Regions from separate parts of the Homo sapiens genome. Here regions 1, 2, 3, 4 and 5 are each linked to region 6. The links are contacts of gene promoters, found by promoter capture Hi-C in human tissues and cell types (Jung and others, 2019). All regions are on one chromosome and are shown on one strand. The core of a region is centred on a gene start or on the middle of the fragment in contact, and the rest is flanking DNA. Distances in the headings are between cores, read along the strand shown. Region 1 has its middle 19 kb from the start of LINC01993. Region 2 overlaps DNAH17 (dynein axonemal heavy chain 17). Region 3 has its middle 33 kb from the start of LINC01993. Region 4 overlaps LOC105371912 (a long non-coding RNA gene). Region 5 overlaps DNAH17 (dynein axonemal heavy chain 17). Region 6 holds the start of CYTH1 (cytohesin 1).

Region 1 (4,184 bases), core at 1,288-3,787, 490 kb after region 6:
GCTCCACTATTTTTAGTTCAACTCCGAAGACAGTGATGGTCCCACGCAGATGCCTGCTCTTGTGCCTCAGTCTCCCACCAGACAGGTGTGCTGGAGGGTGGGTCAGGAAGGGCCTTCTTGAGGAGGCTCAAATCTGCTTGGCTTAATCTTTTTGTTCCTGCACAACACTTTTTTTTTTTTTTTTTTGAGACGGAGTCTCTGTTGCCCAGGCTGGAGTGCAGTGGTGCGATCTCTGCTCACCACAACTTCCACCTCTCCAGTTCAAGAGATTCTCCTGCATCAGCCTCCTGAGTAGCTGGGATTACAGGCACCACCACCATGCACCAAGCCCAGCTAATTTTTGTATTTTTAGTAGAGATGGGGTTTCACCATGTTGGCCAGGCTGGTCTCAAACTCCTGACCTCAGGTGATCCGTCCACCTCGGCCTCCCAAAGTGATGGGATTATAGGCGAGAGCCACCACACCAGGCCTTTTTCTTGATTTAGAATTATTTCTTTGGGGTGCTTTCCCAGAAGAGTAAATATTGAATCAAAGAGAATAGACTTTTTTTTTTTCTTTTCTTTCTTTGAGACAAGGTCTTGCTTTGTCACCCAGGCTGGAGTGCAGTGGCACAGTCTCAGCTCACTTCAACCTCCACCTCCTGGGTTCTAACGATTCTCCTGCGTCAGTCTCCCGAGTAGCTGGGACTACAGGCATGCACCATCAAGCCTGACTAATTTTTATATTTTTAGTAGAGACTGGGTTTCACCATGTTGCCCAGACTGGTCTTGAACTCCTGGGCTCAGGTGATTCGCCTGCCTAGGCCTCCTAAAGTGTTGGGATTACAGGCGTGAGCCATAGCGCCCGGCCAAAAAGAATAGACTTTTAAATGATACTTTATTTAAATTATTTATGGATTACTTAATCTTTGTAGAAAGCTAGAAAATACGGAGAAGCATTAAAAAGAAAATTAAGGGCCGGGCGCGGTGGCTCACGCCTGTAATCCCAGCACTTTGGGAGGCCAAGGCGGGCTGATCACGAGGTCAGGAGATCGAGACCATCCTGGCTAACACAGTGAAACCCCATCTCTCCTAAAAATACAAAAAATTAGCCAGGCGTGGTGGCGGGCGCCTGTAGTCCCAGCTACTTGGGAGGCTGAGGCAGGAGAATGGCGTGAACCCGGGAGGCGGAGGTTGCAGTGAGCCGAGATCGTGCCACTGCACTCCAGCCTGGGCCAAAAAAAAAAAAAAAAAAAAGAAGTGACAGGTAGCTATAACCTGTATGGTAGAGCTCAGTGGCCCTGGCAGGCTGAGCCCCCAGGAAGAAAGAAGAGAGGGACAGAGGCTTGGCGGGGGAAAGGACAGTTTCACTTTCCACAGTACCTATTCTGTAATGTTTCTATTTTTAAAATAATGAGAAAGTGTTTCTCTTCTAAATGGAAAACAAACAAAACATGATGATCATTTTTTTGTTTTTTAAAAAGAATTCTATAAAGAACACCAAAGCTTAGCATTTGTTGTGGTCTTTTTAAAGCGGTAACTGCTGGGGTGGCCCCAGGTACAAAGTCCAGGAGGACTCCTGCTCCACTGGGGACCTCTCCCCACTGCTTGTGGGGGTGCTGTGTTTGGGTGGGGAGGACAGAGCCAGAGTAGGTCCCCATCAGGAGTGGCAGGCTGAGGAGAGGCTGAGTGAGGGCCAGGGGCTTAGTCTGCTCAGGCTGCTATGACAAAATACTTTCTTATTTATTTATTTAGAGATGGTGTTTCACTCTTGTCTCCCGGGCTGGAGTGCAATGGCGTGATCTCGGCTTACTGCAACTTCTGCCTCCCAGGTGCAAGCGATGCTCCTGCCTCAGCCTCCTGAGTAGCTAGGATTACATGCGTGTGCCACCAGGCCCAGCTAATTTTTATATTTTTAGTAGAGACGGGGTTTCACCATGTTGGCCAGAATGGTCTCAATCTCTTGACCTGGTGATCCACCCGCCTTGGCCTCCCAAAGTGCTAGGATTACAGGCGTGAGGCAGCGCGCCCGGACTGACAAAATACTTTAGACTGGGTAATTTTCTAACGACAGAAATTCATTGCTCACAGTGCTGGAGGCTGCGAAGTCCACCATCAAAGCACTGGCCGATCTGGTGTCTGGCGAGGACCCATTCCTTACAAACGGCACCTTCTTGCTGTGTCCTCATGTGGCGGAAGGGGAAACATGCTCCCTCAAGCCTCTTTTATAAGGGCATGAATCCCATTTGTGAGGGTGAAGCCCTCATGACTTAACCAGCCCCCTAAGGCCCTACCTCTTAGTACTATCCCATTAGGCATTAAGTTCCAACACATGAATCTGCGGGACACCAGCATTCAGACCACAGCAGTCACAAGCCATGAAGAAGGCGGCAAGACTCAGCCCCAGGGCCGAGGCCTGTGCTCTCCTGTGAACTCCAGCTCCTGGCATGGAACCTGGAGTGTCCAGGTGCTTTATTGTTTGCTGAATGAATAAACAAGTGTATGGATTTGGGGCAGTGTGATTGAGACATCAAGACTCGACTCAAGGCCAGGCGTGGTGGCTCACGCCTGTAATCCCAGCACTTTGGGAGGCCGAGGCAGGTGGATTGCTTGAGATCAAGAGTTCGAGACCTGCCTGGACAACATGGTGAAACCCAAAAATTAGCCAGACGTGGTGGCAGGTGCCTGTAATCTCAGCTATGCGAAGAGACTGAGGCAGGAGAATCGCTTGAAGTCGGGAGGCAGAGGTTGCGGTGAGGCGAGATTGTGCCCCTGCACTCCAGCCTGGGCAACAGAGTGAGACTGTCTCAAAAAAAGAGGCTCCACCCAAGAAGCCAGAGGGACCCCCAGAGGGAGGTTTCCATGCCAGCAGAGGTGGGGTGGCAGAGGGCAGTGCTTGGGTGGTGCAGCTTGCTGGGTGCTAAGAAGACCTCCCTGCCTGGCTCCAGGCCCGGCTCAGAGCCCACCTTCTCCTCCAGGTGGTAGCTCCTCTTCACCTCTCCCTTTTCTGTGTCACTTGAATATTTTAATGCCTGGGGGAGGTTTTGTGCTTTCCAAGGAAGACTTAGTGACTTGAATTTGAATTGAGTCAAGGCTGGCCACGGTGGCTCATACCTGTAATCCCAGCACTTTGGGAGGCCGAGGTGGGAGGATTGCTGGAGCCCAGGAGTTTGAGACCAGCCTGGACAAAATAGTAAGACCCTATCGACAAAAAAAAGAATTGAAAATTATCTGGGTGTGGTGGTGCGTGCCTGTAGTCCCAGCTACTTGGGAGGCTGAGGTGGGAGGATTGCTTGAGCCCAGGAGTTTGAGATTAGCCTGGACAATTTAGTGAGACCTCTCACTAAGTCATCTCGCTAAAAATTTTTTTTAAAAAATTAGTCGGGCATGGTGGCATGCACCTGTAGTCTAAGCACTTTGAGAGACTGAGGTAGGAGGATTGCTTGAGCCTGGGAGGTTGAGGCTGCAGTGAGCCATGATTACAGCACTGCACTCCAGCCTGGGCAACAGAGTCTAGTCTCAAAAAAAAAAAGAGTCAATATATCAAGTGTAAAAGTTGTCAATATTAAAACCTACCTTTACTTAGACCTTGCATTCCAAAATCCAACAAGTTTTAGCATTCTCTTTATAAATCTAATTTTAATATGAAAACACAATCACTTTCACTTGGGCTATGCTCAATTAACTCATACATTTAACACACTGATTACTTCTTATGCATTTAACCACACTGACCTTTTTTTCTTTTTTTTTGAGACGGAGTCTTGCTATGTTGCCCAGGCTGGAGTGCAGTGGCGTGATCTCGGCTCACTGCAACCTCCGCCTCCTGGGTTCACGCCATTCTCTTGCCTCAGCCTCCCGAGTAGCTGGGACTACAGGTGCCCACCACCACGCCGGCTAATTTTTTGTATTTTTGGTTGAGACGGGGTTTACACTGTGTTAGCCAGGATGGTCTCGATCTCCTGACCTCGTGATCCGCCCGCCTCGGCCTCCCAAAGTGCTGGGATTACAGGTGTGAGCCACCGCGCCCGGCCTCACACTGACCTTCTTAAATAACACAAGAGCCTCGGGAGTACAGATCTAAAATCACACCTTCGATGCTGCTGGAGTCTCCGAAGCACCTGGCCAGGCCGCCTACAAATCAGCATGTGAATTCTTCCAGAACGCGTAGGCAGCTCCTGTAAATTGAGGAAATCAGACTCGTAA
Region 2 (4,520 bases), core at 1,603-4,102, 330 kb after region 6:
TCAAAACGAATTTAAGATTGTTCTGAAAGAGCTGGAAGATTCGCTCCTGGCCCGTCTGTCGGCTGCGTCGGGGAACTTTCTGGGAGACACGGCCTTGGTGGAGAATCTGGAGACCACCAAGCACACAGCCAGCGAGATCGAGGAGAAGGTCAGAGCTGCCTCGGTGACGTGCCCTGGCAGCCAGGGCTTGGGAGGCTGGGCCACGGGCGATCGGCGCCTCCCTACCATGAGAAAGGAGAAAAGCAGCTTCGGTCATACGTGCCCGAGTGGGCCCAGGGCAGGAGAAGGGGTCTGGGCTCCCATCCTGCACCCAGCTGCTGCTGAGAGCCCTTGGGTGGCTTCCCAGGGAGCGAGGCTGGTGGCTGGGAATGAGCCCACCTGCTCATGGCACTGCCCATCTGCTGTGTCATTCACACCCCTTTTGTTTGTGTCGAGGTGGTGGAGGCAAAAATCACAGAAGTTAAAATCAACGAAGCGAGAGAGAACTACCGCCCGGCTGCGGAGAGGGCATCTCTGCTCTACTTCATACTGAACGATCTCAACAAAATCAACCCCGTCTACCAGTTCTCCCTCAAGGTGCGCCCTGCAGCTGGGGCTGGGTGCCTCCCTCAAGGTGGGGCTGCATCTGGGCTCCACAGCCAGGCCTGTTGCCCACACAGCCATCGGGCAGTGCCAGGGCCACCCTCAGAGGGCAGACCTGGTCCAGCCTGCAGATGGAGCTGGAAGAGGGGGAGCCAGGGGCCCCCATCAGTCCTACACCCATTCTCCCCAGGAGAGGGTATGAGCTGCTCCCTCCTCCCTGCTCTTCCCCTGGTGCCTCCAGGCACTCACAACCCAATCAAAACAAACTGGATGGCCTGGCATGGTGGCTCATGCCTGTCATCTCAGCACTATGGGGGGCCGAGGCGGGTGGATCACCTGAGGTCAGGAGTTCAAGACCAGCCTGACCAACATGGTGAAACCCTGTCTGTACTAAAAATAAAAAAAAATTAGCCAGGTGTGGTGGTGTGCGCCTTGGGAGGCTGAGGCAGGAGAATCGCTTGAACACTGCAACCTCCCTCACTGCAGAGGGTGCAGTGAGCCAAGATCACGCCACTGCACTCCAGCCTGGGCGACAGAGCAAGACTCTGTCTCAAAGAAACAAAACAAACTGGAGGCCACCACAGGTGGCAGGGAGTGGTGGCGGGGAGTGGTGAAGGGCTCCATCTCTGCACGCCTCCATGGCTCTCGGTGGCGGATCCCCAGGCCTTCAACGTGGTGTTTGAGAAAGCCATCCAGAGGACCACCCCTGCCAACGAGGTGAAGCAGCGGGTGATCAACCTGACGGACGAGATCACCTACTCCGTCTACATGTACACGGCCCGGGGACTCTTCGAGAGGGACAAACTCATTTTCCTGGCACAAGTTACGTTTCAGGTAATGTCTAGCCTCACTGTTCCTAGTGTGGTCCGTGGACCAGCGGTGTCACTGACCCCTGGGAGCTTTGTGGAAAGGCAGATTGTTGGGCCCCCACCCAAACCTGGTGATTTCAAACCCGCATTTTAGCAATATACCCAGGTGATTATAAAGTCTGAGATGCCTGACGTGGAACAGGCCTGGGGCTCTCCTAGTTGATATTTGGGAAGCTGGCACAGTATTCCAATGGGAGCTAGTGAAGGGGTGGTGTTTTAAGGAGAATTTCACAAGGAAATTCATTTTACATGTAAGTTGTGCTGAGTAAATAGTCCTGCATTAGTGCTTAGCCCACTGTGGGGTGACTGATGTTTCTTAAGAAATAAGTGTATGAATAAACAAATATTCCTCCTGTTTATACAGCCCTGCTAAAATATTTAAAGATCTGCATTCTCTGAAATTGATTAAACAGCCTGTCTTAATTTGTTTTGTGCGGCTATAACAGAATACCCAAGGCTGAGTAATCTATAAACAATAGAAATTTATTTCTCATGGTCCTGGGGTCTGGGAAGTTCCATATGAAAGTGCTGGCATCTGGCAAGGGCCTTCTTGCTGTGTCATCCCATGGTGGAAGGCTAGAGGGCGAGAGAGAGCACAAAACGGGCCAAACTCCTTGTGTAACAAACCCACTCCCTTGATCATGACATTAAGCCATTCACTCTGCTGTCACGGCCCAACTGCCTCTCAGACCCCACCTCCCAACACTGTTGCACTGAGGATTCAGTTTCCAACATATGCTTTTTGGGGAACACATTCAAACCATAGTACAGCCCCTCTGCAATTTCCTTTACACTGTGCCATAAGTATGGTTGGAAACACTAGTTTTTGTTGTTGTTGCTACTGCTGCTATTTTGAGACAATCTCACTCTGTCACCCAGGCTAGAGTGCAGTGGTGCAATCATAGTTCACTGTAGCCTTGAATTCCTGGACTCAAGCAATCCTCCCACTTCAGCCGCCTCAGTAGCTGGGACTACAGGCATGTGCCACCATGCTAGGCTAATTCTTCAGTTTTTTAATTTTTTATTTATTTATTTATTTTTTAGTAGAGACAAAGTCTCGCTCTGTTGCCCAGGCCGGTCTTGAACTCCTGGGCTCAAGTGATCCTTCTGCCTCAACCTCCCTGTAGCTGGGAATACAAGTGTACACTGCTGTGCCTAGCTAATTTTTTTTTTTTTCTGTTCTGGTTTTTTTGTTTGTTTGTTTTTTAGACGGAGTTTTCCTCTTGTTGCCCGGGCTGGGGTGCAATGGTGCAATCTCAGCCCACCACAACCTCCACCTCCCGGGTTCAAGCAGTTCCCCTACCTCAGTCTTCCGAGTAGCTGGGATTACAGGCATGCACCACCATGCCTGGCTAATTTTTGTATTTTTAGTTGAGACGGGGTTTCTCCATGTTGGTCAGGCTGGTCTCGAACTCCCGATCTTAGGTGATCCACTAGCCTCGGCCTCCCAAAGTGCTGGGATTACAGGCATGAGCCACCGCACCCGGCCCTAATTTTTTAAAATGTTTTTAAAGAAACAGGGTCTTGCTACATTGCCCAGGCTGGGCAACACTAATTGTATAAACAGGTTGGGCATCAGTGTAAGCCTGGCTTTCAATTCAAACTCAAACTTTGAACCAATGGGGTCCATATTATGAAGGTTCCTTTTACATGTGAATCTCTGAATCATAGGTTCACTATGAGATTTTCTCCTGGCTGAGAGGTCATCAGGATAAGAGTTCCTCAGTGCTCCCCCTAATTTTCCAGGGTAGAAAGCATTCTCTTTGGTCCCAAAGAACGTTTTGTTTGACCAAAAGAAAGAGTCCAGCTCAGGAAGAAACTCTCTATGGGATCTGAAAAACAGACCGTTTGGGCACTTGACTGAGGAGATGGCAGTGGCCATTGCCCCTGCTCCCAGCCACCTGCTGCCCATCTGAGACAGAGGGTGCCAGGTTAGCTGCCCAATACACCACTTCAAAATGACCCAGACCCTGCCCACAGGAGGTCCAGAGGGCCGGCATGCACAAGCGACAAGATGGCATGGAATATGACCCAGGCTTCCACTTCTGGGCACACACCCACAAGACCTGTAAACAGGTGTCCAGCATCTGTCCACATTCCTGTACATCAGCATTCACAACAGCATTAATCGCAGCAGCCAAAAGCCAGATGAGGCCGGGCACTGAGGCTCATGCCTAGTATCCCAACACTTTGGGAGGTCAAAGCAAGAGGATCACTTGAGGCGGTTTGAGACTAGCCCAGTCAATATAGCAAGACCCCATCTCCACAAAAAAATAGCTAGGTGAGGTGATGTACACCTGTAGTCCCAGTTACTTGGGAGGCTGAGATAGGCGGGTCACTTGAGCCCAAGAGTTCAAGGCTGCAGTGAGCCATGATCACAGCACTACACTCCAGCCGGGGCAACAGAGCAACACCCTGTCTCTCAAAGACAACAAGGCCGGGCACAGTGGCTCTCACCTGTAATCCTGGTACGTTGGGAGGCCAAGGTGGGCAGATCACTTGAGGCCAGTAGTTCAAGACCAGCCTGGCCAACACGGTGAAACCCTGTCTCTACAAAAAATGCAAAAATTAGCCGGGCATGGTGGCACACACCTGTAATTCCAGCTACTTGGGAGGCTGAGGCAGGAGGATTGCTTGAACCCAGGAGGTGGAAGTTGCAGTGAGCCGAGATTGCGCTACTGCGCTCCAGCCTGGGTGACAGAGTGAGACTCTGTCTCAAAAAAATAAATAATAATAAATAATAAAATAAATTTAAAAAATCAGCAAAGCTAATCAATTCACAACAGCCAAAACGACCCGCTGTCCATCAGCAGGTGAATGGAGAATGCCAGCGTGGTTATATTCAAGAATGGAGTATTACTCGGCCTTACAGAGGAAGGAGGTTCTGACACATCTACAATATGGATGAACCTCAGAAGCATCACGCTAAGTGAAAGATGCCAGATGCAAACGGGGCATGTCGTGTGCTTCCATTTATACAAAGCATCCACAACAGGGGCATCCCTAGGCAGAAGGCAGATGAGCAGCTCTCAGAGGCAAGGGGCGATGGGGAGTGGCTGCTTCAGGGGC
Region 3 (4,145 bases), core at 43-2,542, 470 kb after region 6:
CGGGCACGGGCTCGCAGAGAAGCCGGGGCCGCGCCGCAGCGGCTGCATCCGCACCACGATCAATGCGCACCCGCGCCGCTCCGGGCTCCCTTCCTGCCCGTGGAGCGGCGGGGGTCCGAGGTCGTCCGAGCCCGCTGGGCTGCAGGTCCCCGCGCCCCCGCCCCATCATGCCTGGGTCCTCGGTCCCCTCATTCCTGTCTCTGCTGGACAAGCCTCCAACAGTCAGTCCTGCCCAAGAGCTGCGAGGAGCATTAACCTGGCGCGGTGCTTAGGGCCCTGCCTGGAGACCCCCGCATTGGCCACTGCTCTTACTATCAGATACCAAATCCTAGACTTTGGAAGCTGAACCAGCCAACCCCGTCTCTTAACTACAACTATTTTCTACGCTCACCCTTCCCCCAGCTTTTTTTTTTTTTTTTTTTTTTTTTGGCAGAGTCTTGCTATGTCACCCAGGTTGGAGTGCAGTGGTGCCATCTCGGCTCACTGCAACCTCCACCTCCCGGGTTCAAGTGATTCTTCCACCTCAGCCTCCCAAGTAGCTGGGACTACAGGCGCGCGCCAACACACCTAGCTAATTTTTGTATTTTTTGTAGAGATGAGGGTTCACCATGTTGGCCAGGCTGGTCTCGAACTCCTGACCTCAAATGATCCGCCCGCCTTGGCCTCCCAAAGTGCTGGGATTACAGGCATGAGCCACCATGCCCAGCCAGTGGCCTGTGTTTGTTACTGCCTGAGACTCCTCTCAAGGGCAGGGGCTGTGTCACGGGTATCTCCTATTGCAAGCTTGGTTCACGACCTGGCCTGCAGCGGGACGGCTGTATTATATACAGATGGGGTTACCCCAGGTAGAACCACGACCATATGAGGTGCTGGCCAAGGGGGAGGGATTATGGCTAGATGGTGGAAGGAGGAAGTTATCAGTAGAAACTATGGCAGAGTGAGGGACCACCATACACCTTTCCCCTTTATCCTGTTCATTTTTGTTTATGTTAACTAATTTCCTTTTTTCCCTCTTTTTTTTTCCTTACTATTCTACATAAAGTATAGGACCCAGGGTCACCACATAATGTTGTCCAGGCTGCACACTGCACAATTCCAAGAGGGCACTATTGGAAAAATCTATATTGCAAATGATACTTATGCCTCTGGGGGCCCTGGGGATGGGTGACTTTAATTAATCTCATGGGATTTCTGCCCAGAAGAGGAGTGAGCACCACCCACAGCTGGAGAGTGACTGATCAGAACATCAGGTTTTTCATTCTGGGGAGAGGGTGTGTGTGTGTGTGTGTGTGTGTGTGTGTGTTTGGGGCACAGTTGTATAGCATTAGGTGAAAGCTCTTGCTGCTTTTTATGCCATGGTGTGGAAGATCAGCAAGATGCTGGCTGGTGGAATCAGCTCCTTTAATCTTTTTTTTAGATGGTTGGTGTCTTGGTCCATTCATGCTGCTTTAGCAAAATACCTAGACTGGGTAATTTTCAAAGAACAGAAATGTATTTCTCACAGTTCTGGAGGCTGAGAAGTCCAAGATCATGGTGCTGGCAGGTTTGGTATTGGTGAGGGCTGCTCTCTGCTTCCAAGATGGTGACTTGGTGCTGCACCCTCCGGAGAGAATGAACACTGCATCCTTACAGGGCAGAAGGGATGGAAGGGCAAAAAATGAGCTGAATTGAACACTCTACAAAGCCTTTCTTTCTTTCTTTCTTTCTTTCTCTCTCTCTCTCTCTCTTTCTTTCTTTCGACAGAGCCTCGCCCTGTGTCACCCAGGCTGGAGCGCAGTGGCGCCATCTCAGCTCACTGCAACCTCTGCCTCTCAGGTTCAAGTGATTCTCCTGCCTCAGCCTTCCGAGTAGCTGAGATTGCAGGCCTGGGCCACCACACCCAGCTAACTTTTTGTATTTTTAATAGAGACGGGTCTCGCCATGTTGACCAGGCTGGTCTTGAACTCCTGACCTCAGGTGATCTGCCAGCCTTAGCCTCCCAAAGTGCTGGGATTATAGGCGTGAGCCACCACGTCCAGCCTTCAAAGCCTCTTTTATAAAGGTCTTAATCCCATTCACGAGGGAGAAGCTCTCCTGACCTAATCACCTCCCAAAGAACCCACCTCTTAACACTATTGCATGGAGTTATGATGGGGGTTACATTCAGACCACAGCAGTGGGAAAGCTAGAAACTCTTTCCCAGGTTCTCTCTAGATGTGACTTTCTCTCTGCAAATCAATGCGTTCTTGTGGGATTGGAAAGTGGAAGGAAGACAGACTCTTGTCTTTCTGCAGCTGCATGGGTATGAAAGTGGGTTCCAGCAGAAGCACTGGTTGGCAGTGGCTCCATTTCCCATTCTGCCATCTCAGTGCCTGATTTGTGGGTGTGGGAGTGGGGAGGATCGGGGACTGTGGTGGAGGCGTGGCCTTACCCCAGAAAGCTTTGACCTTCCATCTCTCCCAGTGATTGTTTTTCTCAAGCCCATGAATCTTTTCCAATGATTTTATGAATTCCTGATTCCTTATGTTAAAATCCCTTTTGGCTTGAACCACCTGAGGTGGATTCGCCTTGCACAGAACCCTGACAGGTACACAGTGCAAAATGCAGCAATGGGGCACATAGGTGCTGGCGCATCTGTCCAAAGGAACACTGGAAGGGAGAGAGCGAGAGCCCTTTCAAGGCTGATAGAGGACAGTCTGACAGTCTAATACATATTAAGGGATAAAAATCAAGGTGCGGAAGAGTGTGTATGGCATGCTATGATTTGTATGGGGGTAGAAAGAAGAAAGTTTGGCGGGGCGTGGTGGCTTATGCCTGTAATCCCCGCACTTTGGGAGGCTGAGGTGGGCGGATCACCTGAGGTCAGTAGCTTGAGACCAGCCTGGCCAACATAGTGAAACCCCATCTCTACTAAAAAAATATAAAAATTAGCCAGGTGTGGTGGTATGCACCTATAATCCTACCTACTCACTCAGGAGGCTGAGGCAGGAGAATCACTTGAACCCAGAAGGTGGAAGTTGCAGTGAGCCGAGATTGTACCACTGCACTCTAGCCTGGGCGACAGAGCGAGACTCCATCTCAAAAAAAAAAAAAAAAAGAAAGAAAGAAAGAAGAAAGTGTATATGTATATGCAAGCATTTGCTTTCATGTCCATAAAATATGCTAGGAAACGTACTTTTTTTTTTTTTTTTTTGAGATGGAGTCTTGTGTCACCCAGGCTGGAGTGCAGTGTGGCACGATCTCGGCTCACTGCAACCTCTGTCTCTGGGTTTAAGCAATTCTCCTACCTCAGCCTCCCGAGTAGCTGGGATGACAGGTGCCCACCACCACGCCCAGCTAATTTTTGCATTTTTTTTTTTTTTTTTAGTAGAGATGGGGTTTCACTACGTTGGCCAGGCTGACCTCAGGTGATCCGCCCACCTCGGCCTCTCACCCTGGCCTCCTAAAGTGCTGGGATTACAGGCGTAAGCCACTGTGTCCGGCCTGGAAACATACATTTTAAAAAACGATTTGTGAGCCAAGTGCAGTGGCTCATGTTTATAATTCCAGCAATTCTTGAGGCTGAGGCAGGAGGATGTCTTGAGGCCAGAACGACCTGGGCACCATAGTGAGACCCTCATCTGTACAAAAAATAAGAAAATTAGCTGGGTGTGCTGGTGTGTGCCCGTGGTCCCAGCTACTTCAGAGGCTGAGGCAAGAGGATTGCTTGAGCCCAGGAGGTGGAGGCTGCAGTAAGCTGTGATTGTGCCACTGCACTCCAGCCTAAGCAACAGAAGGAGACCCTGTCTCAAAAAGTAAAAAATAAAGGCTGGGCATGGTGGCTCAGGCCTATAATCCCAGCACTTTGGGAGGCCAAGGTGGGCGGGTCACTTGAGGTCAGGAGTTCGAGATCAGCCTGGCCAACGTGGTGAAACTCCGTCTCTACTAAAACTACAAAAATTAGCCGGGCGTTATGGCGCATGCCTGTAATCACAGCTACTCGGGAGGCTGAGGCGGGAGACTCGCTTGAATCAGGAAGGCAAATGTTATAGTGAGCCAAGATCGCACCACTGCATTCCAGCCTGGGTAACAGAGCAAGACTCTGTCTCAAAAAATAAATAAATAAATAAATAATTGAAAAAAAAAATAAAAAGAAGGCAACTCTGCAAGTCAAGAAGAGAAACTTC
Region 4 (4,610 bases), core at 307-2,806, 440 kb after region 6:
CAGTCCAACTAACTCAGTTCACTGCCCAGAAAAATAAATATTATCCACAAGTGGCTACTAATTCTTTAATTAACTAGATAGCTGAATTGAATAGTTTTATTTATAACTTGGATTATTGCTGTAGAATACGGGTTAAAAGGTTTGGCAAGAGCTACCCAAACTTGGGATGGAAATCTGCTGAGAGGAGCCTAGTCTGCTGAGAGAGAGAGAAAGAAAGTACCATTCAAATATGAGCCCAGGGAGAGGCAGGAAACCACTTTCTCCCCAGGACTCTGTACTACAATCTTTCAGGGCGTGCTGGACAGGTGAGGGGAAACCTAAACGCGCCAATGCCCTCCTTCATGAATAAGTAACAGCCGCCCAGTGCTTTGACTCATTCGTCAATAGAGAGTTCACTTCCTGACAAAGAAGCCAGCGCCTTCACACTCACATGTAAGTGACGGAGTAATCAATTGACGATTAATTACAGAGGAAGTTACCAGGAATATAGAATTGCTCTATCAAAATTCAGCGGCTAAGGCAGTATTTTTCAGGTGTGCTTCTGTTATGGAGATCAGACCTGCAGCTGAAATAAACCAGAGTGGTGGTGTTTCCTGAAAGAATATGTCTGCTCAATCTTGGGGGGCTTCCAGTTGGGGGGGGGAGCCTGGGAAGACTGGGTCAGATCCTGGTGTCATCATCCTCCGACTAGGCTGTCATTGTGTCATCTGTAAAACGAGGATGCTGACCTCTACAGAGGGCTCTGGTGAGGTCCCTGGGTTCCTGGCCTGACACATAGTGGGGGCTCAACTGGAGATTCTTCCTTCTCCTGTCACCTGCTCACCAGCACCCCCCTCTGACTGCCCCCAAACCCACTCCTCAATTCTGGAGTTGAAAGGAACCTTACAAGGCTGGTTTCTTTTACAGATGGGTACTTTGACAGACTTGGGTAATTGGGTAAAAGTCAGAGATCTCAATTTCTTTTTTAAGAGACAGGGTCAGCTGGACATGGTGGCTCATGCTTGTAATCCCAGGAATTTGGGAGGCTGAGGCAGGTGGATCACCTGTTCAAGACCAGCCTGGCCAACATGGTGAAACCCCATCTCTACTAAAATTACAAAAATTAGCCAGGCGTGGTGGCTTGCATCTGTAGTCCCAGCCACTGGGGAGATCTGAGGCAGGAGAATTGCTTGAACCCGGGAGGCGGAAGTTGCAGTGAGCCAAGATTGAGCCACTGCACTCCAGCCTGGGCGACAGAGCAAGACTCCATCTCAAGCAAAAAAGAGACAGGGTCTCACTTTGTCACCCAGGCTGGAGTGCAATGGTGTGATCATAGCTCACTGCAGTCTCAACCTCCTGAGTTCAAGTGATCCCCCAACCTCAGCCTCTCAAGTAGCTAGAACCACAGGTGTGCACTACCACGCCTGGCTGATTTTAATTTTTTTGCAGAGACGGGGGTCTCACTATGTTGCCCAGGCTGGTCTTGAACTCCTGGCCTTAAGTGATCCTCCGGCTTCGGCCTTCTGAAGTGCTGGGATTACAGGCATGAGCCACTGCACCCACCCAGTGATCTCATTTCTGAACAGGGAAGGGGCAGAGGGCCCACACAGGGAGTAGGGTTGGGGTAGAGTGAGAAGGGAAAGGAGAAGGGGAAGGTGACTGGGAATTCTCACCCATTCTCACTTCTGCTTTGTGGGTTAGAAACACTGAGCTGCCTCATCCTCCTGTCTCTGAACTTCCTTCACAGCCCATTGGGCCATTTGCATATGTCTCGTTGAAATTCCGGATCACGGCGTCACTGCCTCCTCCCCATGGCCCCCAGAGGGTGACCGGAGCATCACTAGGAGCCAAAGAATGGGGATGAGCAGTGCGGGGTAGTGTTGACCGCCCCAACTTTCCCATGGTGACTCACTCTTATTCAATAGACAGACCATTTTCCTAGAATGTTGCAACAGGGGTATTAGGGTTTTTCCAGAGCTTTCCACTCTCGATTACCCAACCCTGAGCCCCTCGCGTGGAACTCGAGGTGATCCCCGCTAGTGAGGGCTGGACATTTGCCTCTGGCCTTGGCATCCCCTTCATCTTGAACTTTCTCAAGGGGCAGAGCCAGCCTCCCGAGATGGGTTCTGTGCACCCCGGTTGTGCCCGCAGTAGGCTCCTGGACTGTTTTTCTTTCTTAATACATATTTGTTTAATGGATGGGATGACTGGAAATTACTTATCCCTGACGAAGAAACAGGAAGGCAAACAGTTTTACATTTCTTTTTACAAAAACTGTCTTGAGTTTTACCCTGTTCGTCTTTCTTCACTTTAGATTGTGAAGTTTCCAACTCTAACTCCTAAAAATCTTAGTGGAGAGATTCTAAACCCTTCGAGGGTGAGATCAAATCTCCTTCCTCCTTTCTCTCCCCAATCCCTGGTTCATAGTTATGTACTAGGTGCTTAATAGATCTTATTGTATTGGATTATTTTAAAAGTCATTATTTTATACAAAAGATTAGCTGTGCATAGTGGTGGGCGCCTGTAATCCCAGCTATTTGGGAGGCTGAAGCAGGAGAATCACTTGAACCCAAGAGGAGGAGGTTGCAGTGAGCCTGAGATCATGCCATTACGCTCCAGCCTGAGCAACAGAGTGAGACTCCATCTCAAAAAGAAAAAAAAAAAAGTTATTATTTTAAAAGTCAGCCGCTTATAGAGTCAGGCGTGTTAGGTATCATCAATGAAGCCTGGGCTGAGTTCAGGAATCCCGAACCTGTTTGGGTGCATTTGAGCTGATTGCCTTGTCAAAAAGTTCAGTAATGGCTCTGGCAAACTATGGCTTTGCGAGAGTTGGTGGAGGGGATTATAATGGTCTTTATTCCAAGGGAAAGTCTACTGCTTGAGCAGGGCACACCGGCTGGTGCCTGTAGTTCCAGGTACTCAGGAGGCCGAGGCAGGAGGATCACTTGAGCCCAGGACTTCAAGGCTGCAGTGAGTGAGCTACGATCAAGTCAATCCACTGTAGCCTGGGTGACAGAGCCAGACCCTGTCTCTCTGTCTTTCTCTCTCTTTTTTTGGGGGGGTGGGGCGGGATGGGATCTGGCTCTGTAGCCCAGGCTGGAGTGCAGTGGCAGGATCTCGGCTCACTACAACCTCCATCTCCCGATGGCGGTCTGGCCAGATGGGGTCTGGCTTTGTCACCCAGGCTGGAGTGCAGTGGCTTCATCTCTACTCACTGCAACCTCCATCAAGTGGTTCTCCTGCCTCAGCCTCCCTAGTAGCTGGGATTACAGGCGTGAGCCACCATGCCCGACCTAAGACCCTGTGTCTTAAATTTTTTTTTAAGTCTATTGTTTGAACCCCAGGAAAGGAATTTCATTGTGGGGTCACTCTTCATACAGGATGATTCCCTGTGAGTTTATAATAGCTCAGGAAGAGATACTGGAAATTATCACATAGGTACCCTATACTTTAGGGGAAATTTCTCCAAAAAGAAATGCTGGCCAAAAAAAGAAAGCTGTAGGTTCTAAAAAGGAAAATGGTAAGGTAGACCAAAAAAAATCCACAATTCAGACAATTCAATCACAAAAGATTTCTATGAGAAAGAGGCCAGGCATGGTGGCTCATGCCTGTAATCCCAGCACTTTGGGAGGCCCAGGCGGGTGGATCACCTGAGGTCAGGAGTTCGACACCAGCCTGAGCAACCTGGAGAAACCCCGTCTCTACTAAAAATAGAAAAAATTAGCTGGGTATGGTGGTGCACGCCTGTAATCCCAGCTACTCGGGAGGCTGAGGCAGGAGAATTGCTTGAACCCAGGAGGTGGAGGCTGCAGTGAGCCGAGATCACGCCATTGCATTCTAGCCTGGGCGACAACAGTGAAACTCCGTCTCGAAAAAAAAAAAAAGAGAAAGAAAGTTGGTAGGGGTACAAAATAAAGCACTGATACCTTCTAGGGAGCTGAGCTCATATTTCAAAAGGACAGAGAAGAGGGCAGGAGGGAGGGAGGACTCTCAACCACAAGTGAAGGCAAAAGAGCCCCTTGAGCCTGATGGGAGGGGCTGGGGTGCTATTAACCCTCAGCTCCCAATAAAACCTCTAAGAAAACAAAAATGGCTTGGAAGGTTGTAGTCACGGCTACAAGGACGAGCGAAGGACAGACCCAGTCCTTAGCTGAGAAGACCGAATCGTGTCAGATGACAGAAGAGGAAAGAGAATAAAGACCACCGTTATTGAGCGCCTATGTGTACTGGTGCATCCCCAACGCCTGTCCATCCTAAAGCTCTGTCCATCTCCCAACACAGACCAGGGGCAGTTGCTTCCTTCCTACCAGGGAGCAGCTCAGAGGCTAAGACCCTGCCACTGCTTGAAGCATCTCCCAGGGGAATGCAGATCTGCCCCAGGTTCTACCTGCTCCCCTGTCAAACTCCGAGAGAAAGTAGGGTGAGGGTAGGAGGGATCTGAAATCCAGGATGGGGAGGGCGAGCTGGGAAGCTCCACATTGACTTGAAAGTGGGCTGGGCAGCAGAGTGAGACGCTGTCTGGGTAGATGCCAGCCCCGGACTCTTGCTGGCTTTCACCCTTGGCCTGAGATGAGGAGAGGGACAGAAAGATGACAAACAAGGCCACTGTGGGCCAGAAACTAGACTGGGGA
Region 5 (4,726 bases), core at 1-2,500, 310 kb after region 6:
TGCCTTTCAGGGTAGGGTCAGGGAGTAAAGAAAAACTTCACTCCCTTTTCCAAAATGAAGCCAGCGAGTACAGGGAATCCGAGCATCACCAATAGTCCTTATCCAAAGGGTCTTTATCTTAGAAAGCAGAGGCCAGAAAACCTTCCAGCCAGCGTGCGTGCCCGTGTGACTGAGGTGAAGAGTGTGAAACCTTCCAGCCCGTGTGACTGAGGTGAAGGGTCTGAAACCTTCCAGCCAGTGTGCATGTCCATGTGACTGAGGTGAAGCGTGTGAAACCTTCCAGCCCATGTGACTGAGGTGAAGGGTCTGAAACCTTTCGGCCCGTGTGACTGAGGTGAAGCGTGTGAAACCTCCCGGCCCATGTGACTGAGGTGAAGGGTGTGAAATCTTCCGGCCCGCATGACTGAGGTGAAGAGAGTGAAACCTTCCGGCCAGTGTGTGTGCCCGGGTGACTGAGGTGAAGAGTGTGAAACCCTCCAGCCCGCGTGACTGAGGTAAAGGGTGTGAAATCTGGCCAGTGTGACTGAGGTGAAGGGTGTGAAACCTTCCAGCCAGTGTGCGTGTCCGTGTGACTGAGGTGAAGAGTGTGTCTGTCAACTACTCGATGGACACAAGTCCACAGAATCAACCCAGATCACAGAGGCAGAGAGGTTGGATCCCTGCCCTTGGTCACTGAGTGTTCCAAATTGTTACCTATTCTCTCCAGACTACAGAATTCAGAGCCATGACTGGGTGTCTAACTGCATGCCTGAGATGCTGAATGGCTGCTTTTGGAATGAATGAAATAAACATTAGACTAAACATAAGGTCTCCCATGCCCAACACACACTGCTGAGGGTTTTTATTGATTTCTTGTTCCTGAAAATCTGCTCTCCCAGGCAACTGCGTGCCATTAGTTCAGAAGGAATCATCGTGCTTGAGATTAGACCTGAAATCGATTGGGCCGTCCTACACGGCCATGCCTTCTCTGTGTGCTGGGGCCGCTGTTGTGGGGCCAGGACGATGCCAGACCCAAGGGGGAACCTAAGGGGACCCTCCCGCAGTACGTGGCCCTCAGACAGTCGCTGGGCTGGTGGCTTTAGCAGGCAGACCTGGAGCCAGTGATGCTGGGAGCAGTGGGAGGTGTCTGCAGGCAGAGACCCTGGAGGGGCAGTGCAGGCTGTGCCAGGGACGGCCAACCTCTGGGAGAGCCTCCAGTTTCTGGCTGGCTGTTCTCTGCCTTCCCAGCAGATTCTACTCCATGTATAAAGGGGCCGGCCTGCTCTTTTTTGAACTCCTCAGATGGGCACTCCTGAACACAGCCCTGTCCTCTGGACCCATGAGCGGTAGTGTGTCATGGGTTCTCAGCGCATCTGATGGAGTTAGTTCACATTGGTATCTGCGGCCACTCAAGTGTCATTTGAACCTGGAGCCGTATGGTTTTACTGAGCTTTCTCCATTGAAGTCTCTAGTCTATTAACTAAATCACGTTGGTTTACGTTCATGACGGCATCGTTTCCTTGCTCTGCGTCCCTGCGGGGATTTTCTCCCTGATCCTTCCTGTTGGGGCTGATTGTGGGTGCTCAGCCTCAGCCTCAGCCTCAGCGGTACTATTTTATTCATCAGCTGCTGTGGCTCTGTGATCTGGGCTGTGGAATTTCACTGTCCCTGCACCCATCACAAATCAGCTTTGCTATCACTGTCATTTCTTTTTTTTTTTTTTTTTTTTTTGAGACAGAGTCTCACTCTGTCGCCCAGGCTGGAGTGCAGTGGCGCGATCTCAGCTCACTGCAAGCTCCGCTTCCCGGGTTCACACCATTCTCCTGCCTCAGCCTCCTGAGTAGCTGGGACTACACGCGCCCGCCACCACGCCCGTCTAATTTTTTGTATTTTTAGTAGAGACGGGGTTTCACCGTGTTAGCCTGGATGGTCTCAATCTCCTGACCTCGTGATCTGCCCGCCTCAGCCTCCCAGAGTGCTGGGATTACAGGCGTGAGCCACTGCGCCCGGCCATCACTGTCATTTCTTAAGCCGCTTCTGTGGATTCAGAACTAAGGGCAGAGGTAAACAGGGCTATAAGTTCCTGAATTGTATTGGGGGAGCTAGACTCCTGAGCCATTCGACATGATTATCGTTCTAATGGTGCTGCCATAGTAATAGGCTCACCCCTATGGGGGTAACATATATGTTTGTGATTATGTAATATTATAAAGTAGGTCCCGGAAGCTGTGGCACCTGCTGGAGGCTAGGGGTGCACAGGAAAGGGGTGGAGGGTGGACCCTGGAGGACAGTGTGCCGTGTGAAAAGCCCTGGGCTTGGTCCCAAGAAAACGAGACTACATCAAGATGTCTGATCAGGGGATAGAGCGGGCAGGATGTGGTAGTGTTCTAGGACACAGGAAGGATAGTTTGAAAGCACAGAAACTGCTGAAGGGTGACCTGGGTGGAGCTGGGGCACAAGCTCTGTGACCCCACAAAGGCTGAAAGTGGGCAGGTGCGACGAGAAGGGAGAACGGAGGGGGAGGGGAAACCAGGGCCAGCGAGGGCTGTGCCTGCCGAGACAGCGTGCGTGACCTCGGGGACTCGGCTGGGGTCCAGGATCCGAAACCTTCAGGTGCTACCCCAGCTCCCCTCCCCACACCCCACACACAGCCCCCGGGGCCAGGCGGTGGGGAGTTTTTATTTCTGTGAAACCTTCACCCCAGCCTGAGTCAGCAGCCAGAGCTGGGCTGCCCCATGAAGAAAGCCTGTCAGCAGAATGAGGGGCCGTGGTCTCAGCGGCTCAGGTCCCCGCCTCCCCGCCAGCTTCCTGCAAATGAGAGGGAAGGGGTGAGAAGCAGCCATCGGGTGGGGTGGGGGCTTGGCCTCATGTTATTCTCAGGGAGGAGGCCTTGCTGCGTGTCTCGCACCCGCCACTCCCAAATCCTAACCCTAATCCTCGCACCCCCATTCCCTAACCCTAACCCTCGCACCCCCACTCCCTAACCCTAACCCTCGCACCCCTACTCCCTAACCCTAACCCTCGCACCCCTACTCCATAACCCTAATGTCTCACACACCCCCACTCCCAAATCTCGGCTCCGTGTCCTGCCTGTCTACTGCCAGTGGCATTGGCTATGGCAAGGAAAGGCACTGCTGCTGATGTTTTGGCCAAAGAAAGGGAAGCCTGTGCCCCTTATTAATGGCTGGTCCCTAGACGGGCCTAGATACAGGTGACGATTGCCGTCCTTGGCTGACAGTGATGATAGGGACGCAGGCAGATCCAGCTTCAGTAGCACCATGGGGCTCTCAACCAAGATAGGAGGGAGGGTGGGGGAGAACTGCCCTGGGGCCAGGCCCGGAGGAGATGAGATACCTGGGGATGAGGCGGCCATCGCACAGCGGGACACATGGGGCTGGGAAGTGCAGGGATAGGATGCGGGTAGAGATGTGGGGGCCAGCCTCAGCAGCATAAGAGGACGGGAGTGGAGGGGACTGTGCCAGAGAGTGAGCGGGGAAGGTGAGGTGGGGACAGCCCAGCGGTCACAGTGGGCAGGGTAAGGGCCACTCCATATGGGACAGTGTGGCTGTGAAAGCCAGACGGGCCGGGAGCGGTGGCTCAAGCCTGTAATCCTAGCACTTTGAGAGGCCAAGGCAAGGAGGATCCCTTGAGCCCAGGAGGTCGAGGCTGCAATAAGCTATGATCATGCCACTGCTCTCCAGCCTGGGCGACAGAGTGAGGCCCTATCTCTAAAAAAGTAAAGTCAGAAAAAGGAACAAAAAAGGAAAAGATTTCTGGTATGGTCAGTCTCCACCCAATGTCCTTGCTACACTGTGAAATGAGAAGAGTGATTCGTCTTTGACTCAAGGTCATTGCTGGCTCTCACACTACGCTCCTTACCTCGAGGCAGGGTCCAAGGACATAGCCTTGGCTCAAGTCCCACCTGCGGCCCACCTGCTGCCCACCTGCTTTTCCAGGCTCAGAGCTTCCCCTTGCTTTTTCTTAGCTTGTCAAGAGATAGGAGATTTGAGGCTGGCTTCTGACCCCAGTCAGCTCCCAAAGAGGAGGCCTGGTGAGGTTTCTCTGAACAGAGAGATTTCAGGGAGTCGGACTTGCTTCCGAAGGATGGAGCAGCCACTGGGGTGCCTATATGGACACTTTTAAAGCCTCTTCAATAAGTACAGAAGCCCATAGGTCTTGTTTTTTAAATTAAATATTATAGATAAGCAAATCGCCAAAACGCTGGAAATACACATCACTACTTGGATGAAACTGGCAGGCATTTCTGAACATATATATACATGGAAATGGCATATTCAAAAATAACGAGCTATTCCTACTGCTCTGTAAAATGCTTTAAAAAAAACTTTTCATTTATTCTTGCAAAATTCCTATGAAACCATCTTCTCGCCCTGTCCTTAAATCCTGCTGTGGATGACTCTGAAAGGGGGTTGCCTGTTAAGGCTCCCAGTCCAAGCCTGCAGTATATTTATTCAGGGCCTCTTTTAGGGTCTCCATTTAAGATTTTTTTCTTTCCTTTTGCATATGTGGTAAAATATACATAGTATAAAATTGACCATTTTCACTGTTACTTATTTCTTTTCTTTGAGACGGAGTCTCACTCTGTTGCCCAGACTGGAGTGCAATGGCACAATATCGGCTCACTGCAACCTCCACCTCCTGGGTTCAAGCAATTCTCCTGCCTCAGCTTCCCAAGTACCTGGGATTACAGGTGCGTGCCACCACGCCTGGCTAATTGTTGTATTTT
Region 6 (4,250 bases), core at 1,583-4,082:
GGGCGGATCACCTGAGGTCAGGATGTCAAGACCAGCCTGGCCAACATGGCGAAACCCTGTCTCTACTAAAAACACAAAAATTAGCTGGGCTTGGTGGCACATGGTGGTAATCCCAGCTACGTGGAGGCTGCAGTGAGCCGAGATGTGCAACTGCACTCCAGCCTGGATGACACAGTAAGACCCTATCTCAAAAAAAAAAAAAAAAATCTCTGATCATGAATGTGATCTAATGGAGTAGCTTCTGTGTTTCTTTGACAGTCATCCATGGTCAGGGATAGCCCTACCCAGTGGACACATGCATGCATTCATTTGCAACCAGAACAAACACTGTCTCTGTATTATGTGTGATAGACTACAATTTTTTAAAAATTCTATTTTCTTTTCATCTAATAAGTATTTGTTTCATAACCATTAAGAGTCATGACCCGCTGTTTGAAAAACACTGTTCTTTTTTTTTTTTTTGGAAACAGGGTCTCACTCTGTCCCCCAGGCTGGAGCACAGTGGTGCAATCATAGCTTACTGAAGCCTCAACTTCCCAGGCCCAGAGGATCCCTCCCACTTCAGCTTCCAGAGTGGCTAGGACTACAGGCGTGTGCCGCTATGCTCGACAATTTTTAATTTTTTGTAGAGACAGGGTCTCTCTATGTTACTCGCGCTGGTCTTGAACTCCTGCCCTGAAGCAGTTTTCCTAGCTTGGCCTCCCAAAGTACTGGGGTTATAGGCATGAACCACTTCACCCAGCTGAAAAACACCAGTCTAATGGAACAATATAAGGGAACAGAATTTGTAAACAGTCATGTTCTCTGCTAATCTGTGATTAGCAGTAATACCAGTATCCCTCCCTCTCCAAATCTATTCAGTTGGTGAGTTCAGCTAAGAGGTCTAGAGTGCTGATAGTAAGAATTAACATGCCATCTGAATCGCTTTTCTTCTGGAGTTCTGGTCTTTGAGCAAGAGCTGAGGTGGTCTGGGACTTGCATACTGATAAGGGAAGAAAGCCAGCTCGAAGATACCTTGAACCTTCTGGTGAGTCTGGGGTTAGAAGTGAAGTAGGGAGTGAAACAGAGGATGGCAAATACTGGGGGAGAGGCTCAGTGCTCCATTAGCCCATGTGACAGATGGTTTGAGAAGATTTGCCAGGTCAATGTGGGGTCAATTCTAAAAGTGTCCTAAGTCTAGGCCAAGAGGAACAAAATGCAGCTGGGTCTCTGACCTCACACGCCGAAGCCCAAGGACACGTTAGGGCCAAAATGTGACTCTCTAAGGTCACCTGTAAAACTGGACAATCTGGTAAAGTCAGTGAAGGTTAAGATCATGAATCCAGCCAGGCGTGGTGGCTCACGCCTGTAATTCCAGTACTTTGGGAGGCCAAGGAAGGAGACCAAAGAGAAAGGATCACTTGAGCCTAGGAGTTCGAGACCAGCCTGGGCAACCTAGCAACCTCCGTCTCTACAAAAAATACAAAAATTAACCAGGTATGGTGGCCGGTGCCTGCAGTCTCAGCTACTCAGGAGGCTGAGGTGGGAGAACTGCTTGAGCCTGGGAAGCAGAGGTTGCAGGGAGTCATGATGGTGCCACCGTACTCTAGCCTGAGCAACACAGCGAGTGAGACTCTGTCTCAAAATGAATAAATAAATAAAAGAAAAAGAAAAATAGTAAAACTCAGGACAGGTGGGCCCACAAGGAAAGAGTTCTGTGGCTTTTACTCCCGTTTTTTGGTTGGTCCAAAAAATTCCCAGCAGTCCAGGGATCTCTGTGGAGTTCTCAGTGAGTGTTCTGTGTAGGGTGCAGGAGCCACAAGTGACTGCAGGGGGAAAGGGGGGTTCTGGTGCTGGCATTCTGCAGCAGTGGGATTGTCCTCTGTCATAAAGAAAGAGAAGGCCGAGCGCGGTGGCTCATACCTGTAATCCCAGCACTTTGGGAGGCCGAGGCAGGCGGATTATTTGAGGTCAGGAGTTCGAGACCAGCCTGGCCAACATGGCGAAACCCCGTCTCTACTAAAAATACAATTAGTCGGGCCTGGTGGCACATGCCTGTAATCACAGCTACTCAGGAGGCTGAGGCAGGACAATCGCTTGAACCCGGGAGGCGGAGGTTTCAGTGAGCCGAGATCGGGCCACTGCACTCCAGCCTGGGCAACAAGAGCGAAACTCGTCTCCAATAAATAAATAAAATCCAAAACGCTGGGACTTGAAGTGCCCTCCTTTCAATCTTGACCCAGGTAAAACTCAGGACAAATAAAAAGAAGTAGAAGCAGTAAACTTAGGACATACAGCATGTAAAGGTTCTGAACGCAGGAGTAAATGACTTCAAATAGCTTTTGTGGCCTTTCGCCAAGGACCGGGCCCTCCCTGGCAAGCTGGGGCCGGGTCTGACCTTCCAGGTTGGCGTCAGCAAGGACCACCCTGCCCTTCAGTGGCCGGACACGACCTTGGGCTTTCGTGCAGTAGCCTGGCTGCAGGCCAGGTCGAGTCCGCCACCCCGGGGACTTGCACCGCCCTTCAGAAACCGAAACCTGCTCGGCCCCAGGAGGCGGACCGGGAGAAGGGGGGGGGGTGTGTGTGTCTCGGGACGGGGGCGTGGTCTAGAGGCGGGGGCAGGGGAGGAGCCTCGGGTGGACGCGCGTGCGCAGGCCGGAGCCTCGGGAGGAGGCCGGGTACCCGGGGTGCGGCGCGCGCGGGAGGAAGGCGGGGCCTCGGGCGAGGGGCGGGGCCTCGGGCCGGGGGCAGGGGGCGGGCGCAGGCGCAGGCGCGGGCGGGCGGGGCGCGGGGCGCGGGGCGCCGGGGGCGGGGCTCCGAGCCGGGCTGAGGCGAGCGGGGGCGCGGGTGGCGCGGCGGGACGCGAGCGGCGAGCCGGAGCGCGGAGCCCGGCTCCCGCACCATGGAGGAGGACGACAGCTACGGTCAGTGCGCCCCGGCGGCGGACGCTTCCCCCTCGCTGTCCCCCAGTCCCCTCCGGGCCCGGCCGTCCGGCAGCGCTTGCGGCGGCTGGCGTTTCCCGGGGACACTGGTGCGGGACGCGGAGCCCGGGGCGACCGGCGGGCGAGCGGTGCGCGGGGCCCTCGCGGGGCGGGGGTCGCAGGGGGTTTTGAGGGATGAGGGTCGCCGGGGCCGGGGTCGCTGGCGGCGCTGAGGGATGTGGGTGGCTGGGGCGGGGGTCACAGGCCGGGCTCGCGGTCTCGCGGGGCCAGGGGTCGCCGCGAGCTCTGAGGAATGAGGGTCGTTGGGGTCGCGGGGCAGGATCTCAGGGGCTCTGAGGGATGAGAGTCGTTGGGGTCGCTGGGGTCCCCGGGGCAGGGGTCGCAGTCCGGGTCCCGGGGGGCCGAGGGGTGGAGGTCGCTGGCCCTGCCGCCCCTCTGCGGGGCTCGGGGCGGACGCGCGGATGGCCGGGCCCGCGTTCCCCGCAGTTTCCGGCCGCTCTCGGCGTCAGCGAGTTGTGCCCGGTCCACGTCTTTGTTCAGAAATGAGAACGGGGAGCGGCGCCGCCGGCGAGGCGCGGGCTCCGGGACGGCCCTGCCCGCGGGAGTCTGGGCCCGGTAGCCGCCGGTCCGGTGCGTCGCCGCCTGCCGAGACGCGGGTGTGGAGCCCGAGGGGCACCGCGGTGGGGACGCCGCTCCTCCCCTGACTGGGGACTTGGCAAGCGGAGCCGCTGTCCCGCTCCCTTCGCTCCCGCGCGTTGAGGCTGCTGGCCCAGGCCAGGGGTGCCTCCCTCCAAGAGTTTGAAATTGCAAGGGTTGCAAAAGGTTGTTTGACATGCTGTAGTTAATTTATTAAGTTTGTTCATGAGGAATTAAAAGGAAGAATGGCAAATAGAACAAGTGGTGAACTTTTGTGGTTTGGTAGCAAAGTACAAATAAAGCAGAACTCTGTGGCCAAATGGAACCCAATTCTAGTTTAATAACTAATGGGACATTTTTCTTTTTTTTTTTTTTTTAAGAGACGAGATCTCGCTCTGTCACCCAGGCTGGAGCACAGTGGCGTGATCGTAGCTCACGTCAGCCTCTTGAGTGGCTGGAACCATACGCACGCCACCATGCCCGGCTAATTTTTTATTTTATTTTATTTTATTATTTTATTTTATTTTATTTTATTTTTGAAACGGAGTCTCACTCTGTCGCCCAGGCTGTAGTGCAGTGGCGCCATCTCGGCTCACTGCAACCTCGGCCTCCTGGGTGAGCTGAGCGATTCTCCTGCCTCAGGCTCCTGAGTAGCTGGGACTACAGGCGCGTGCCACCACGCCTGTCTAATTG

Evidence for each region. Contacts are between HindIII fragments. The study calls those that stand out against the background at their distance.
Region 1: a contact is called between a fragment that was not itself captured here and the fragment with the promoter of CYTH1 in region 6, in 2 of the 25 tissues and cell types used here (dorsolateral prefrontal cortex and thymus).
Region 2: a fragment that was not itself captured here is called in contact with the fragment with the promoter of CYTH1 in region 6 in 3 of the 25 tissues and cell types used here (mesendoderm cells, spleen and thymus).
Region 3: a fragment that was not itself captured here is called in contact with the fragment with the promoter of CYTH1 in region 6 in 2 of the 25 tissues and cell types used here (IMR-90 fibroblasts and hippocampus).
Region 4: a fragment that was not itself captured here is called in contact with the fragment with the promoter of CYTH1 in region 6 in 1 of the 25 tissues and cell types used here (hippocampus).
Region 5: a fragment that was not itself captured here is called in contact with the fragment with the promoter of CYTH1 in region 6 in 2 of the 25 tissues and cell types used here (dorsolateral prefrontal cortex and mesenchymal stem cells).

The regions. Positions count from the first base shown.
Region 1 is chr17:78,295,007-78,299,190 of GRCh38, reverse strand. No RefSeq gene overlaps it. Among named protein-coding and RNA genes, the nearest start is that of LINC01993, 19 kb to the right of the region's middle. The HindIII fragment of the contact is 9,751 bases long and covers 1-4,184 here.
Region 2 is chr17:78,446,310-78,450,829 of GRCh38, reverse strand. DNAH17 (dynein axonemal heavy chain 17) reads left to right here. Exons shown (of 81, transcript NM_173628.4): 67 at 1-148; 68 at 436-576; 69 at 1,246-1,416. Among named protein-coding and RNA genes, the nearest start is that of DNAH17-AS1, 36 kb to the left of the region's middle. RefSeq lists an enhancer at 1-372 and a silencer at 502-723. The HindIII fragment of the contact is 9,864 bases long and covers 1-4,520 here.
Region 3 is chr17:78,309,887-78,314,031 of GRCh38, reverse strand. No RefSeq gene overlaps it. Among named protein-coding and RNA genes, the nearest start is that of LINC01993, 33 kb to the right of the region's middle. RefSeq lists a silencer at 1-34. The HindIII fragment of the contact is 4,231 bases long and covers 1-3,407 here.
Region 4 is chr17:78,334,788-78,339,397 of GRCh38, reverse strand. The region is part of intron 1 of LOC105371912 (a long non-coding RNA gene); the gene reads right to left. Among named protein-coding and RNA genes, the nearest start is that of SOCS3, 23 kb to the left of the region's middle. RefSeq lists a silencer at 306-415. The HindIII fragment of the contact is 9,275 bases long and covers 1-4,610 here.
Region 5 is chr17:78,470,528-78,475,253 of GRCh38, reverse strand. The region is part of intron 54 of DNAH17 (dynein axonemal heavy chain 17); the gene reads left to right. Among named protein-coding and RNA genes, the nearest start is that of DNAH17-AS1, 12 kb to the left of the region's middle. RefSeq lists enhancers at 262-311, 2,454-2,543. The HindIII fragment of the contact is 9,669 bases long and covers 1-4,726 here.
Region 6 is chr17:78,780,855-78,785,104 of GRCh38, reverse strand. It overlaps CYTH1 (cytohesin 1), which reads left to right and starts at 2,832. Exons shown (of 14, transcript NM_004762.6): 1 at 2,832-2,903. The coding sequence starts at 2,882. RefSeq lists a cis regulatory region at 1-47 and silencers at 2,573-2,732, 2,773-3,052, 3,313-3,712. The HindIII fragment of the contact is 23,878 bases long and covers 1-4,250 here.